Linked DNA regions of Homo sapiens: region 2 is linked to region 1. The links are contacts of gene promoters, found by promoter capture Hi-C in blood cells and fetal thymus (Javierre and others, 2016). All regions are on one chromosome and are shown on one strand. The core of a region is centred on a gene start or on the middle of the fragment in contact, and the rest is flanking DNA. Distances in the headings are between cores, read along the strand shown. Region 1 holds the start of ZBTB2 (zinc finger and BTB domain containing 2). Region 2 holds the start of SLC18B1 (solute carrier family 18 member B1).

The links. Contacts are between HindIII fragments. The CHiCAGO score rates a contact against its expected background, and 5 or more counts as called.
Region 2: the fragment with the promoter of SLC18B1 here is called in contact with the fragment with the promoter of ZBTB2 in region 1 in 1 of 17 cell types (total CD4 T cells); the score reaches 5.4 in total CD4 T cells.

Annotation. Positions count from the first base shown.
Region 1 is chr6:151,386,765-151,394,573 of GRCh38, reverse strand. ZBTB2 (zinc finger and BTB domain containing 2) reads left to right here and starts at 3,015. Exons shown (of 3, transcript NM_020861.3): 1 at 3,015-3,154. LOC124901232 (translation initiation factor IF-2-like) reads right to left here and starts at 6,254. Exons shown (of 3, transcript XM_047419613.1): 1 at 6,237-6,254; 2 at 4,102-4,620; 3 at 1-3,869. The coding sequence starts at 6,254. The coding sequence ends at 2,970. RefSeq lists an enhancer at 2,130-3,002 and silencers at 2,984-3,043, 3,054-3,443, 3,524-4,453. The HindIII fragment of the contact is 3,903 bases long and covers 1,795-5,697 here.
Region 2 is chr6:132,795,322-132,803,130 of GRCh38, reverse strand. SLC18B1 (solute carrier family 18 member B1) reads left to right here and starts at 4,494. Exons shown (of 14, transcript NM_052831.3): 1 at 4,494-4,717; 2 at 6,010-6,149. The coding sequence starts at 4,675. RefSeq lists a silencer at 4,427-4,476 and an enhancer at 5,708-6,208. The HindIII fragment of the contact is 1,643 bases long and covers 4,259-5,901 here.

The DNA of each region.
Region 1 (7,809 bases), core at 1,766-4,265:
GTAGTCCCAGCTACTTGGGAGGCTGAGGCATGAGAATCGCTTGAACCCAGGAGGCAGAGGTTGCAGTGAGCAGATATCGCGCCGCTGCACTCCAGCCTGGGCGACACAGCGACACCTCGTCTCAAAAAAAAATTTTTTCTGCTCATTGTCCAAGTCTCACTGGAACTATCCTCTTCGGAATACAAGCAAGTGCATATTTTCATGGTTGTGTCTCAGCAGAACACAAATCAAAACTTTCAGCAACACCAGACTCTGCAGAATATTCATGTATAACTTTTGATGAATCCACTCAGATTGCTTGCACTGTGATTTTCTTTGAAGTAAAAAGTGTTAAAACTATTTTTGAATTCCTAATTTACCAGATTCTCAAAATACCAAAATAAATTGGCACATAATTAAACAGCGATTTAACTTTTTTTTTTTTTTTCCTTTTTAGAGACTCTGTTGCCCAGACTAGGGTGCAGTGATGCGATCATGGCTCACTGCAGCCTCGAACTCCTGGGCTATATGCGATCCTGCCACCTCAGCCTCCCAAGCTGAGACTATAGACCCACACCATCACGCCTGGCTAATTCTTTTTTTCTAATACATGGGGTTTTCTTACATTGTCCTGGCCGATCTGCAACTCCTGGGCTCAAGCAATCCTTCCGAAAGTCCTGGGACTACAGGTGTGAGCCACCACGCTCAGCCTTTTTTTCCTTATTACTGTACTAGGGACATTTGTGGCTTTTCCACAATGAGACTTAGTAGAGAAATGACAGCTTCCCTTGGCCCTATCCTGAAATACACTAACTAGCTCTTCTCTGCCAGGGCTACCGTTTTCTCCCTAACCTTTGCAGATGTATGTATCCATATAAATGTTTCTATTTCAACAAACTGTAGAAAGTATACAGTCTGTACAGCTCCCCTTATAATGCTATTACCTGATGATCCTGACTACAAGTTGGAATTATCTGCATACTTGGCAAAATTCAAGTGTGGCTGCCTATGCCTCGAGAGAATGAGCAGCAAACCAGCCCAGTCCTAAATTCGAATAGCAGCTCTTAAAGAGAATAGGATGCTCTTGATAGGCTTTCTTTAGGACTGATATTCAATTTCTGGGCTTACCCCTGGGTTTATTTCTACAAGCCTATATAGAGTGTAACGCTAGAAAATATTCAGTGATGTTAAAAATAAGCATAGTTACTTTGACTCAAGACCAATTACTCTACACACACAGGCAAATTTCTGCCCAATGGTCTCAAGTTTAGCATTAGTTTTGCCCACTTTTTCTTTTATTCTTAAGTCAGTTTCACTCTTCACATGAGCACTCCACCAACACCATAAGGTTGAAAATTTTCAGAATGGAATTCCAAAAGAATTAAGAACCTACAGATCTCTAATTACAATTCTCTACAAAACAATCAACATCATTTTAGTTCCCTAGTAAGATGAGACAGACCTCAATACTCAAGCCAATCCAAGGAACCAGGCACCAGTCTGAAGGCCAACTTTGATATTCCAGTGACAGCGGTGCAGTAGAATACTTAGATCAGGGTCAGAATTTGGTTTTGGAGGCAGACATTTACCCACTAAAGTCATTTATCTAGCTGATCAAAAAACAGGAAAGTTCAAAGCGAGTATACACTGAATCTATTATCCATTTGAGAGCCACTGAAGCTACACAGCTGCTTATTTTGTCTTCAAAGAAGGAATTAGTCATCAGTACCTGCAGGTATAACTGGATTTCTAAATCAAACTCAGATTTTTAGGAGGGACACTTCTATGTATTAAATTGTCTTAAGATGGTAAGCTTGCCTTAAATGATTTGTAAACTATGTGCCAGGCATTGTGCTAGTGGTCAGACTGTGTAAACCAAAATGGGTTAGACATCACAACCAAGTTAGCATGCCTTGAAACCAGAGTATCCTAGAAACTGCTGCCTCCACTTCCTTAGGAATAAAGCCATATCCTTTCTAAATCTCAAAAAATCCTAGATGTGTAAAGAAATCATTAAATTCTAGTCCTCAAAGGACTGTATTTCCCCAAAAAAGACACGGATTCTAGAAAAATGGCAACAACCAAAAAGTAAACTTTAAAATGTTAAAAATGACCATCAGGAAATTCTAACTTCCCTGCCATGTTTCCGTGTTTCAGGATCTCCCCGTTAAAAGATTTTCCACACCTCTAAATCTAACAGAATAGCCAACTCTGGAATCCATACCTCAAAGACCAAAACCTAACAGGAGAATAAACTGTTCTCTTAACAAACATGCGTTGCAGACTTTCATTTTTGGGGGGGCCAAAACTTCAAAAACGAAAATCGTTGCTGAAATAACCATGAAATTCAACCCTAACAGAAACATCTTACGCCGCTCAACTCATCTGCAAGGTAAAGGAAGCACCTCTGCCTCTGTGCACGCTACAGGAATCTGTACTTCAGCATGACTTTCAGTTACCATTGGTGACACAAAGATACTGCTGGTTTACAGTATCTCCCCGGTTCTAAAGGCCACTCCATTTCAAGTCTTAAAGATTAAAACAAACACGAAAAGTCAAGGGACAAGGGTAAAGGCCAAGAGATCTCAAGCAGAAGCCGGCAGAAGGATACGAGCAGTGGCTCTCCATCTCTACCCCGAGCATCTCAAGGACTTGTGCTACCTAAACACTTTATGTAAACAAGGGGCTTGTGACTCAGGCCTCCAGCCCCAATAGGTGGAGAGAAGTTTCCTCGCCTCGGCTGCACATGGTCTGCAGAAGTTTGGCTGGAGCAGAGCGCGGAGCCTGGGTGGGAGCGGCAGTGGAGTGCTGCAGGCGGCGGCGGCGGCGGCAGAGCAGCAGGAGGCGGAGGCGGGCGGGGGGAGGGGAGCGGCTGGGGGGGGGGCGGAGGGGGCTCTTGCCGCCACTGCTCTCTCGCCGCCTCTCCCCCCCGGCGGGAGCCGCTCGCAGCCTCTTTGCACTAGTCTCTCCGCTCTCTCGGTCATGTGACCTTAACGTAACCGGACAGGAAAAGCCCCGCCGCCGCCGCCGCCGCCGCGCCGGAGACACCGACCGCGGCGGCAGCAGCAGCAGCAGCAGCGAGAGGCAGAGGCGGCGGCGGCGGGGAGGACAGCACGGCCGAGGCTGCCCAGAGGCGCCTCCTCCACACCCCCCGCCGCAGCAGCACCGGCGACAGGTAAGCGCGCACCGCCTCCGCCTCCCGGGGCCGGTGCCCACGTGCCACCCCCAGCCCAGGGTCCGGGAAGGCGGTGGGGGGGCGGGGGCCACCGGAGCTCGCAAACGGTTCCGGCAGAGGCGGTGGCAACAAAGACGACGAATGACCCTCGTACCAGGGCTACGGGTGCAGGCAGGCGGAAGGCCCGGGCCACTCGGGGACCCGGTTCTGGGAAGCGAGGGCAGGGGCGCCTCGCGGGGGCGGCGGCGGCTGCGCCTGGCGCCGGGGCTCTGGCCGCTTGACAAAACCATCCCCCGGAGCCAGGCGGCGGCGAGTCGGCGGCGCCTCCATCCGGGGTTTTGTGGGAGGGGGAGGGGACGGAAGCCGAGAGGGCGGGCGGCGGATCGGAGGGAGGGTGGGAGGGAGGAAGGGGAGGGGGGCGATTCGCGTTCGGTTCCCCGTGGCCGGTCCCTCCCTTCCCGCCGCCACCGCGAAGTGCGCCCTGGGCGGCGGCGGCCGGTGAGCGTCCCGCGCTGGAGCCCTCAGAGGCGGGCCCGTCAGGTGCGTAATCCTTCCGACGCCTCGCCGCCGCCTCCTGCTGCTGCCGCCGCTGCTGCTTCGGCGGCAAGGCCGCGAGCTGCGGAAGTGGGTTTGGGGGAGGGGAGGGAGGAGGGAGGGGGAGGGGAGGGATCCGGTCCGACCGGAGCAGGCCCGGCCTCTCTGGCGCTTCTCCCAGCTGCAGCGGCTCCTACAGCTGCTGCCGCTACTGCTGCGGCTCCGCCTCCCGCTCGCGGGCGGGGGCGCGCACGCGCGCTTCCGGCCTCCTCGGGTCTCGCGCTGTCTCCGGCTCTCGCGCGCGCTCATCCCTCTCCCTCTCTCCCTGTCTGGGCCACCCCCGCCCCCGGCGCCGGGGCTGTTGCGCCGGCCGGGGCGTTGCGCACGGCGTAGGCGTCGGCATTGTGTTAAACTCCGCGGGACTTGGGGCGAGCGCGCGCGCGCACGCGGGACTGAGGGAAGCGGCGAGCGTGCAACGCGGCCGGAGTGCGTCGCCCCTCCCTCCCCCTCAGCCCCTCGGGGACGGGGACAGGGAGGGGGCGGGGCCGGCGAGACCGGAGGGGGCCAGAGGGCCCCGGCGCCGCGCCCCCGGCCCCGCCCCGGGGCGGGTGGGACGAGGTGGCTGTTGCGGCGCGCTCAGGCGGGCGGGGGACGCGTCGGCCTCTGTGGCGCCGCCCTTGTCGCCTGCTCGCTGAGGCTGCAGGCCGGGCCCCAGTCCCGGGTACGGAGCGTGTTGAGCCGGCGGCCTCCAGCTTCCGCCCGACGCGCCATCTGCGCCTGCGATACAGCCCGGTTTGGCCCCGAGCGCGCTGTGCTTTCGGCTGCTTAGCCTTGGGGCGTGGGACCCGCGCGGCCCTCACGCCCCAACCGGACTCCAAGGCGGGGAGGCTGCTTCCCGGGGCCGGCGTCGTTTTCTCGGTGTAGCGAAACCTCTAAACCCTTCTTGTTTAAACAAAGCCGCAAGAGAGAACTTTTTAGCCAGAAGCTGCAAAGGAAGCTGGGTTTTGCCGCTTTTAGCTGGTAGTAAAAGAGGCAATAAAGAAGCGAGGGTAGCAGAGCAGGCGAGTGCCTGGGCCGGGAGAAGCTGCAGCTACGCCTTTTACTGCAGGAACTTCCACCCGAATACGTGAACTCCTAATTATGCCTTGGGGATATAACCCGGCTCTCGCTCCCCGCCTCCCCCAGCTGCATTGTTCATTAGCTCTTTCATCATACAATGGGTCCACTGAGTTTGTGAGCCTTGATTCTATTCATTTTATCAGGGTATTGTTTTAGTAAAATAAAGCATAAAGAAGGTCAGAATTATCAGAACTCCAGGGGGTCTCTGGGTTTGCTTAAACGCGCTGCCCTGTCCTTGCTAATGTAAATCATCCATCTATGCCAACCCCGTTGGAGCACCAGGGCGAGTTGTACACACCACTAGCGTTTTAGTGTGGGAGTACCCTGAACGTTTAATAGAGAATTGGGACTGTGCCATTTTAATTCTCATTTGACTGATTTATCACAAACCAAAATTATAAATTGGTAAGGTAAATTCCACTGCATTTTGAATGATCTTGTTGTGTATCCAGGATGTTTTCAAACTGTTAAAAGGTCATTTTTTTCTTTTTTCTTTTTTCCTTTTAGTAAGAGGCAGGGATCTCGCTATGTTGCCCGAGACGGTCTTGAACTTCTGGGCTCAAGTGATCCTCCCGCCTTGGCCTCCCAAAGTGCTGGGATTACAGGGGTGAGCCACCGCTCCTGGACAAGAAGGCAGTTTTTAAAGGCATAGTAATTTACCACTAATAGGACATCCTTTTAAACTGGGCATTTCTCATTTAATAAACTTGTGGTTTGTTTGCTAGACAAAGAATTGTCCAGTTATTGAAGCCATCGTAAGTACAAGAAGTGATACGCCGGTGCCACTGATGGTCAACAGTGGAGGAGCAGTCTACACTACAGTGGAGTGTAGTCTACGCCCCTAAAACTTTGTCCTACAGTCCCAGTGCATACTTGCCAGTTTTAAAGCTTCTCTTCAAAGGGGATGTAAATACGTTGATGCTGAGCAATCTCTACCACTAGCAGCAGAGAATAAACGCTAATCATGTTTTAAGTTATAGAATAAAAGCTGCCACGGTGACACCTGCTTTTATATCTTAAACTTTAATATCAACTTTTCAGTAACCTCCAAAATCTGCACTTTTATAAGATAATATAAAATAATAGAAAAATGTGTTCATGGCCAGGGAAAGTGGCTCACGCCTATAATCCCAGCACTTTGGGAGGCCAAGGCTGGAGGATTGCTTGAAGCCAAGAGTTCAAAACCAACCTGGGTAACATAGATCCCACATCTCTATTAAAAAAGAAAAGAAAATGTATTCACCCCAACCCCATAGATATACTTTGCAATCCTGTGATTTCAAGTACCCACAGCATGCCCATGAGTAAGTGGATGTGCTTTCCCCAATTTGAGACTTACAAAATAGAGAAGGAAATATCTAAAGCTCATCTGTAGCATCGGCCTGGGATCAGCAGCTTTAGAGGTGGGAACTGCCCTTCCAGCTCTTACTGTTTCTTGGTGCTTCATTCCTAGCCCCACTCACCTTTCCCTGTAGGAACTTGGAAAAGCTGGGCAAGTCCCGTGGCACCAGCCTGCACAGGAGAGGAAGATTGAAAGAACTGGTTTGCTGGTAATTTTTTTACCATAAAATACCAAATGCACCTGGGAAAGGTCATTTATCATCACTTTTCCTATTTTCTTATGCTCTTTGGCTCTCCAAACATGACTGAAAACCTAAAAGGGAACTGAACATTTTTATTTCCCTGAAGAAAAAAAAAAAATGTAAACATTCTAAGCATTAGACTAAGAATATTTCTAAAACGTTCTTTATGCTCAAGTAGGTTATAATTTGTGCTAGCAAATTAAACTATTAAATAATTAAAATATTACTTCGAATTGATAGTAAATAAGATTCAGTATTTTTACAATGCCGATAGAGCCATTAAGATATGGAATCAGTAGCCACAGAACCCTTACAAGGAGTTGGCAGCCCAACATATGTAGATCCATTTTAGAAGCCAACTTGGAGGCTCATATTTATGCTCAAACTCATAACCCCCAGTTCACATGCTTGAGGTATGCATCACATGCCTTTGAGTGTCACTTTAAGAAAGTTCAGTATTCAAAGATAGGAATTTGAAAAATACTTTTATGTATCTGGCTAAGTACTTAGGGAAACTACTTTTTTACTTTTGTTAGAGATTTTAGTGTACTGTTCTCTTAAACAGGGGGCACTCGCTAAGTTCTGCACCAAGCAGGGTAAGCGTCAGAATCCTCTGGAATGAAGTGCGCATGTTCTCCTGCACCGGGAGAGTCATTTAGGTTCTCTGAGTCCCCAAAGTGATTCTGAACGGCGCTTGTCTAAGTGTGGTCTGCAGATCCTTTTGAAGCCCCAGGATCCTTTCAGGATTCAATGAAGTCAAAACTGTTGTCACAGTAATACTAAGTTGTTATGGCCTTTTCCGCTGTGTTGACAAAATGTCTTCTCAGTGTTGACACTGAGAAGATCTGCTTAATTCAGTGAGCCGATATTTTCCAAATGACCAACAGATGATGTTAAAAATCATGAGTGGGTAAATGATCCGTTGAAAGTGGATAGACCAATGAATATTACTATAATAGAGTAGGAAAAGTTAATTCAGTTATGTAGTTTTATATTACACAACCAACTTTTAAGAAAGTAGACTTGTCAAGTGTTGGTATAATATAAAAGAGGACTGTCCACAATTACCTGAAAAGGCTATTCAAATATATCTCCTTTTTCCAACTACATAGGTGGGTGAGGCTGGATTTTCTTCACTACTCAACCAAAACAGAGTTAATTGAGGAGTAAATGCAAAATCCAGTTGTCTTCTGTTAAAGAGAATTGCAAAAATATAAAAAGACACCACTTTGTTATTTTAGAAAATACAATTATTTTTTCATAAAAATGTTCTGTACTTTAACATGTAATGGCCTTATTGTTTTTAATTGAATTAAATATTTCTAAAATTTCTCCATTTTGGTAATTATCAGTAGTTAAAATCCATATAAACATATAATTGATGTTCTTAATAATTTTTAAGACCATTAAGGGATCCCA
Region 2 (7,809 bases), core at 3,245-5,744, about 19 Mb after region 1:
AGTCAAAGTAACTAAAATATTCAAACCACTCTTGAAAAAGAAGAACGTACTTGGACACTTTTTACTGCCTGACTTCAAACACATTGGGTCTTGATATGCAATGGAAGCAAGTGAGTGGAAGAAGCTAGCACCACCTAAAATCTCTTCTGGTGAGAGTGGCAGCATTCTTGAGGAGTGGGGATGATGTTCTAATTACAGTGTCTCATACCTGGCTCCAGTGGTATTGGCAGCATGTGCTGGAGATGTACGTCCAGCAGGGTTGCAGTGCCATGCATACTGGACCGCTTAGGTGGTGTGACTTTAGGCACTTAGCCTCTAAGTGGTATGCATGATCCTCCTGATGATACTATGTGTTACCTAATAATCAATGATGAATTCATTTTCTGCTTAAATTAGCCAACGTTGCTTTGTTTTTTATTAGCAACAGGGAACTCTGACTGATAGAAATGCCAGGAAGAAAAATAGAAAGGTGAAAGGACAAAGGAGGACTAGGGCTGTATTTGGATAAGGGCATAAGAATGAACTTCTTAGCCGGGCGCGGTGGATCACGCCTGTAATCCCAGCACTTTGGGAGGCCGAGGCGGGAGGATCACCTGAGGTTGAGAGTTTGAGACCAGGCTGACCAACATGGAGAAACCCTGTCTCTACTAAAAATACAAAATTAACTGGGCATGGTGGCGCATGCCTGTAGTCCCAGCTACTCAGGAAGCTGAGGCAAGAGAATCGCTTGAACCTAGGAGGTGGAGGTTGTGGTGAGCCAAGATAGCACTATTGTGCTCCAGCCTGGGCAACAAGAGTGAAACTCCATCTCAAAAAAAAAAAAAAAAAAAAAAATGAATGAATTTCTTGGCCAGGTATGGTGGCTTACGGCAGTAATCCCAGCACTTTGGGGAACCAGGGCAGATGGATTGCTTGAGTCCAGGAGATTGACACCAGCCTGGGCAACATGGTGAAACCTCATCTCTATTATTAAATAAATAAATAATAAAAAAGAATGAATTTCTCTGAGGAGGTGGCATTTAAACAAAGACCATATTACTCCATTTTAGTTTGTAAAGAAACAAATATTCCATATGTGTATGAATGTCTAAATGAGCATATCAAACTATGAATAGATAATTGTGGTAGGCTGATAATGGATTCCAAAGATACGTCCACATCCTAATCCCTGGAACCTGTAAATGTTACCTTATATGAAAAAAAGGGTCTGTGCAGATGTGACTAAATTGGAGAACTTGAGATGAAGAGGTCATCCTGGATTATCCAGGTGGGCCCTAAATTCATTCAAAATATCCTTACAAGAGACTGGCAAACGAAGATTACACACAGAAAAGAAGAGGCACAGTGATCACAGAAACAGAGACTACAGTGATGTGGCACAAAATGCCAATAGTCACTAGAAGCTTCAAGGGGCAAGAAACAGACTCTTCCCTAGAGCTTCTAGAGGGAACATGATCCTGCTGACACCTTGATTTTGGCTCAGTGAAACTGATGTTGAACTTCTGGCTTTGAGGACCTTGTTTTAAGCTATCAAATTTGTGTTGATTTGTACAGCAGCCCCAGAAAACTAACACAATAATATATTTGATTATAAAACTGATTATCTGAAGGGAGAATGAGAGGTAGAGATTACAAGAGGAGCGGAGGATAGGGATATGAATAGACTTTATGTAAATTAAAAGTAGATGGACACATAAGAACATAGATTTTTTTGAGAACATAAAGAACAAGATTTGCATTAAACATGCAAGAATTATTGCAAATGGGGAGAGGAATGAGAATGGAGATACAAGGAAATAGATGGCAACAGAAATGAAACATTCAATTGGCAAGATACAGTTGGCAAGATTCAGTTGGCAAAAATTCAGATGGCAAGATACAGTTAGGGATACTTCCTATAACATGGAGGAAAAAAAAAGAAAAAATAATAACTAGCCAGGTGTGGTGGCACAGGCCTATAGTCCCACCTACTCGGGAGGCTGAGGTGGGAGGATCAGTTGAGCTCAGGAATTTGAGGTTGCAGTGAGCCATTATATGTCATGGTAGCTTGGGAAACAGAGTGAGACCCTGTCTAAAAAAAATAAAATAAAATAAAAGAGAGAAGAAAAAGAGAAATAAGTAAAAGGACCAGTTTGGGTGACCCAACATTCACATAAAGTGCAGTCCAGAAAGAAAATAAAAGAGGAAATGTAATCATCAAAGAAATCATTCAAGAAAATTTCCCTCTACAGATTGATGTTAGATTGAAGAGAAAGCATAGAGTTAAATGAGATTGGAGAAGCTGTCAGGGGTTAGATCATAAAGATTTCATAAGGCTACTTTAGGGAAACTTTGCTAGATTGGAACTTTCTTTTCTTTTCTTTTTTTTTTTTTTTTTTTTTTTTTGAGATGGAGTTTCACTCTTGTTGCCCAGGCTGGAGCACAATGGTGCTGTCTTGGCTCACCACAACCTCTGCCTCCTAGGTTCAAGCGATTCTCCTGCCTCAGCTTCCCGAGTAGCTGGGACTACAGGCATGCGCCACCATGCCCAGCTAATTTTGTATTTTTAGTAGAGACAGGGTTTCTCCATGTTGGTCAGCCTGGTCTCAAACTCTCGACCTCAGGTGATTTGCCTGCCTCGGCCTCCCAAAGTGCTAGGATTACAGGCGTGAGCCACAGCACCTGGCTTAGAGTGGAACTTTCTGTTCAGAGTGGTTCTCTAGGTTCTCCTTTACAACTTGCCCACTGGGGAATTTTTTTTTTTTTTTTTTTGAGATGGAGTCTCGCTCGGTTGCCCAGGCTGGAGTGCAATGGCATGATCTCTGCTCACTGCAACCTCCGAGTCCCAGGTTCAAGCGATTCTCCTGCCTCAGTCTCCTGAGTAGCTGGGTGCCATCATGCCCAGCTAATTTTTGTATTTTTGTAGAGACGGGGTTTCACCGTGTTGGTCAGGCAGGTCTCGAACTTCTGACCTCGTGACCCGCCCACCTCGGCCTCCCAAAGTGCTGGGATTACAGGCGTGAGCCACCGCGCCCGGCCCTCACTGGGGAGTTTTTACATAACCTTCAAGAACCAAGGTAACATCACTTCCTCAGGAAGTCATCCAGGACCCATTTGCCAAAGTAAATGGTTCTTCCAATATGTTTGTATACAACCGATTGCATTATAGTAGATTATTAATTAGTGTGAATTTCATCTGCTAGAAGGTGTGCTACTTGAGGGCAGAGTCTGGATGGGGCTCATTCCTCTTTAAATTCATAATGCCTGGCACAAAGTGGTAACTCAGTCTTTTGTTTTGCTTTGGCTTCAAAACAAGAATTTCCCAGTCCTTAAACTTTATTTATTTATTTGAGACAGAGTTTCGCTTTTTCACCCAGGCTGGAATGAGGTGGCACAGTAATTACAAACTTACTATCAGCCATACTGTGTACTGGAACTGACCTTGTACAGTGGATCTGAGGCAGATTCTCAGTCGATAAAGCTACCCTCACACAATTCTTTTGGATCTTGGCTCACTGTAACCTCCGCCTCCCAGGTTCAAACGATTCTCCTGCCTCAGCCTCCCTAGTAGCTGGGATTACAGGTGCCTGCCACCACGCCTGGCTGATTTTTTTGTATTTTTATAGTAGAGACAGGGTTTCACCATGTTGGCCGGGCTGGTCTAGAACTCCTGACCTCAGGTGAGCTGCCCACCTCGGCCTCCCAAACTGCTGGGATTACAGGCATGAGCCACCGTGTCCAGCCAGTCCTCGAGCTTTAACACTTCCCAAATAGTAAATACGGTGAAAATAAGTGAAACCTATTTTTTATGCAAGAAAACTGTGAGTGTGAGAGTAAGGTAGCAGCCATCATGTTCATGTGCTAACTACTAACACACTTTATCGCCAATGCTCACAGCCGCCCTACGAGATAAACATTATAATCTCAGTTGTACAGGTAGAGAAACTGACCTTGTCATCCAAAGTTACACACTGCCAGCAAGTGCCCTGGCTTGAATCCCTGGCACCTGCCTCCAGAGGTCGCACTCCTAGCCACTTCGCCATGCTTCCTCGATATTCATTAGTATTCTTGCAAATATTTTTCGACTCCAGGTGCTTCACATAGGTTAATTCATTTCCGGTTCAATAGTGTCTGGCTTCAGTAATTACGAACACTACCGCATTTACCCACTGTGAAAAATAATTCACTCTTTCAAAGTTCCTGTATAACCTAATTTTCTAATTCACTTTTGTGTCTTTCAGTTGAGGTACTCCCTGCCTTTTCTGTGTCTACATAAGCTTCCTTTCTTTCGTTTCGTAGGAATAAATTGAACTTATTTTAAGATTGAGGGGGGTACAGCTGTATGGAATATAGACTCATCTTTTTTCACTCTCTGTCACAGAATGAAAAAGGACACCATGATATAGCAGCTGAGGTGGTGGATTAAGATAATGAGGCGGGGGGGGGGCGCAAAACAAAAAAAAAAGGAGCCTTGCTCCACCCCTGCCCCGCCCCCGGCCTCCTCCCGGGGACCCAGAGTCCTGGAAGGCTTTGGGGAGCTCCGGGCCGGGCGGATCGCTGCCTGCAGGGAGTCGGGGATGCCAGGTTCCAGCTGAGCAGCGGCCGCCCGCCAGAGTGCCAGTGGCTCCTTGGAGGTCGAGTCCAAGGACGTGGCTTGAAGCCGGGAGCTGGGGCGCCGGAGTCCACGCACCGGGGATGGAGGCGCTGGGTGACCTGGAGGGACCACGCGCACCAGGAGGTGACCATGAATTGCGTGGCCGGGAGCCCGGAGACCAGCGGCGGCTTCCGGCGTGTCTCTTTAGCAACGATTGAATTGCTTATAGCTTGATCTGTTTCCGAGAGATTGGAAAAGGCTGGGGCCTGATCGTGGGGTTCGGGCCAGCGTTTCTTTTCTCTCTGGACGGGGTAAAGTTCCAGGATTGGATATGTGTCACGGTTTCTAATGACTTTCTAACCTATACCTCTGCTTTTTAAGTACTGTGTGTTTAATGCATTCAAATAAGTATGCCATTAGGCAAATGTAAAACGTTACCTTTCAAGTACCCATTGTTGTTGCCTTTCTTTTTAACTTTCATTTCCCTTTCTCATCTACTACAAACATTTTACAAAGATTCGTAAGACTTCCTCATGTTGCACTGATTTTTTTTTTCCTTCTGGACTGCAATGGCAACCTCTGACAAATAGAGCAAAGCAAATGTATTTCTCTTAAGTTTTTCCTAAAAACAATTTAATTTATAAATGGCTGATGGATTTGCTTGGATATTTGGAACTCAGTAATTGATTTCGTGTTTTTAAATGACAATTTAGCCCTGGAAATAAGTGTTAAATTAACTGATGTAAAAGACCAGTAATTAGGGTAAAAAAAAAGTATTTATTTATGAATTTGTGGGACTTGTCTATCCAGAAGCATACCGCTGTAAATATTAATTCACCAGCTGAATGATTTAGCTTGTTTTCTCCTACTTACACTTCATTTGACTTCAATACTGCCTTAGAAATCTTTGTTTTTTGTTTTTGTTTTTGTTTTTGTTTGTTTGTTTTGTTTTGCTTTTTTGAGACGGAGTCTCTCTCTGTAGCCCAGGCTGGAGTGCAGTGGTGCGATCTTGGCTCACTGCAAGCTCCGCCTCCCGGGTTCACGCCATTCTCCTGCCTCAGCCTCCCGAGTAGCTGGGATACAGGGGCCCGCCACCACGCCCGGCTAATTTTTTGTATTTTTAGTAGAGACGGGGTTTCACCGTGTTAGCCAGGATGGTCTCGATCTCCTGACCTCGTGATCCGCCTGCCTCGGCCTCCCAAAGTTCTGGGATTACAGGCGTGAGCCACCGTGCCCAGCCGAAAGCAGTACGTTTTCAAAACGGCAGTAATGTACAAGGATTGTGTTCCATTTGATCAAATGTGCTATATTCAAAATAGCCCTAAGCTTAGCAAATGATATCTTCAGAGTGCAACATATGTGCACAGAAATCACATTTGTGTACTTTAATCAGTAGTCTCAATTATATGCCTAATTGCTGCATGTTTGCATTCAAGGTGATGATCCTGCAGGAAGTGCAGGAGAGACCCCCGGGTGGCTTTCGAGAGAACAGGTTTTTGTACTGATATCGGCAGCTTCGGTGAACTTAGGTTCCATGATGTGCTATTCTATACTTGGACCGTTTTTCCCCAAAGAGGTAAGACATTTTTAAATCCTTAGGACCTCTGTTTTTTTGTTTGTTTGTTTTTTAAAAGCCTTTTGAATTATTTTATTTTATAGTATATAAAATGTAAAAATCTGCATATAGGACAGATGGTGTATAGAACTCCAGCCAATAGAATACTTCTTATAGAATGCCTGATACCAGGAAAAAAAATCCAGTCAAAAAGAACATCTTCTTGGGAGGTAATTCACCTAAAAGTAGTTGATCTTCTGAGAATTACTTTTCTTACCATGTAGTCTGATTAATCTTTATTTGGTTTCTGCAACTGAAACAAAGGAGTGCACTGAATAACTGAGATTCAAATGTTACTGCAATAGGTCTGTGTTAAGACAGTAACTATTTTCTCGAGGTTTTATTCACATTTTAGAATTAGGACGTTTTGATTCCCGACCCCCCTTCCTTTTTTTTTTTTTTTTTTTTTTCCTTTCGAGACAGGGTTTCGCTCTTGTTGCCCAGGCTGGAGTGCAATGTTGTGATCTTGGCTCACTGCAACCTCTGCCTCCCGGGTTCAATTGATTCTCCTGCCTCAGCCTCCCGAGTAGCTGGGATTACAGGCGCCTACCACCACGTCCGGGTAATTTTTTTTTTTTTTTTTTTTTTGAGATGGAGTCTCGCACTCTCGCCCAGGCTGGAGTGCAGTGGCGCGATCTCGGCTCACTGCAAGCTCCGCCTCCTGAGTTCACGCCATTCTCCTGCCTCAGCCTCCCAAGTAGCTGGGACTACAGGTACCCGCCACTACGCCCAGCTAATTTTTTTTTTTGTATTGTTTTAGTAGAGACGGGGTTTCACCGTGTTAGCCAGGATGGTCTCCATCTCCTGACCTCATGATCTGCCCGCCTCCGCCTCCCGAAGTGCTGGGATTACAGGCGTGAGTCACCGTGCCCGGCCGAATTTTTGTATTTTTAGTAGAGACAGGTTTTTGCCATGTTGGGCAGTCTGGCTTCGATCTCCTGACCTCAGGTGATCTGCTTACCTTGGCCTCCCAAAGTGCTGGGATAACAGGCGTGAGCCACCACGCCCAGCCCCGGCCCCGCTCCATATTCCCTCTTTTGACTTTAATTTCTTATGGACTCTAGCGCCAATGTTTATGCAAGGGAGGAATTCTGATTAATAGGGCCTATTCCTTCTAGGCATAGCCTTTTATATGGTGTTAAGATTTATAGCTAATGACACAGATTCAAAGATAATAATCCCTAGAAAGTCCAACTGGATTCTAGACGTCAATAGGATATAGTATGAAATGAATATGACTGGCTTGGAGTGTAGACAACATATCCATGTGTTTTATTTTGTGCTTTTTGCCAAATCCTTGGCTCACAGTGCAGTGGAAGCTTGTTAGTCCTCCAACTGCCTTTTAAACATGTAGTCCTTCGTTCTGTGTGTTACAAAAGAAGATAAAGTGGCTTCTCTGCTAAAGGAACAATATTGCCATGTACCCATACAGTGCTCTCTGGCTTCTAGTACACATTACCCCTTATTTATCCATTTAATCCCCGCAACAACCTCATACAGAATCTTGAGAATCTCAGCATGTTGCAAATGAAGAAACGGTCTCAGAAGTTGTGACTTGCCCAATTCAGTTCTATTAACTAGAGGTTTAATGAGTCCCTTCTCTAGAGCAGGCTAAGCATGG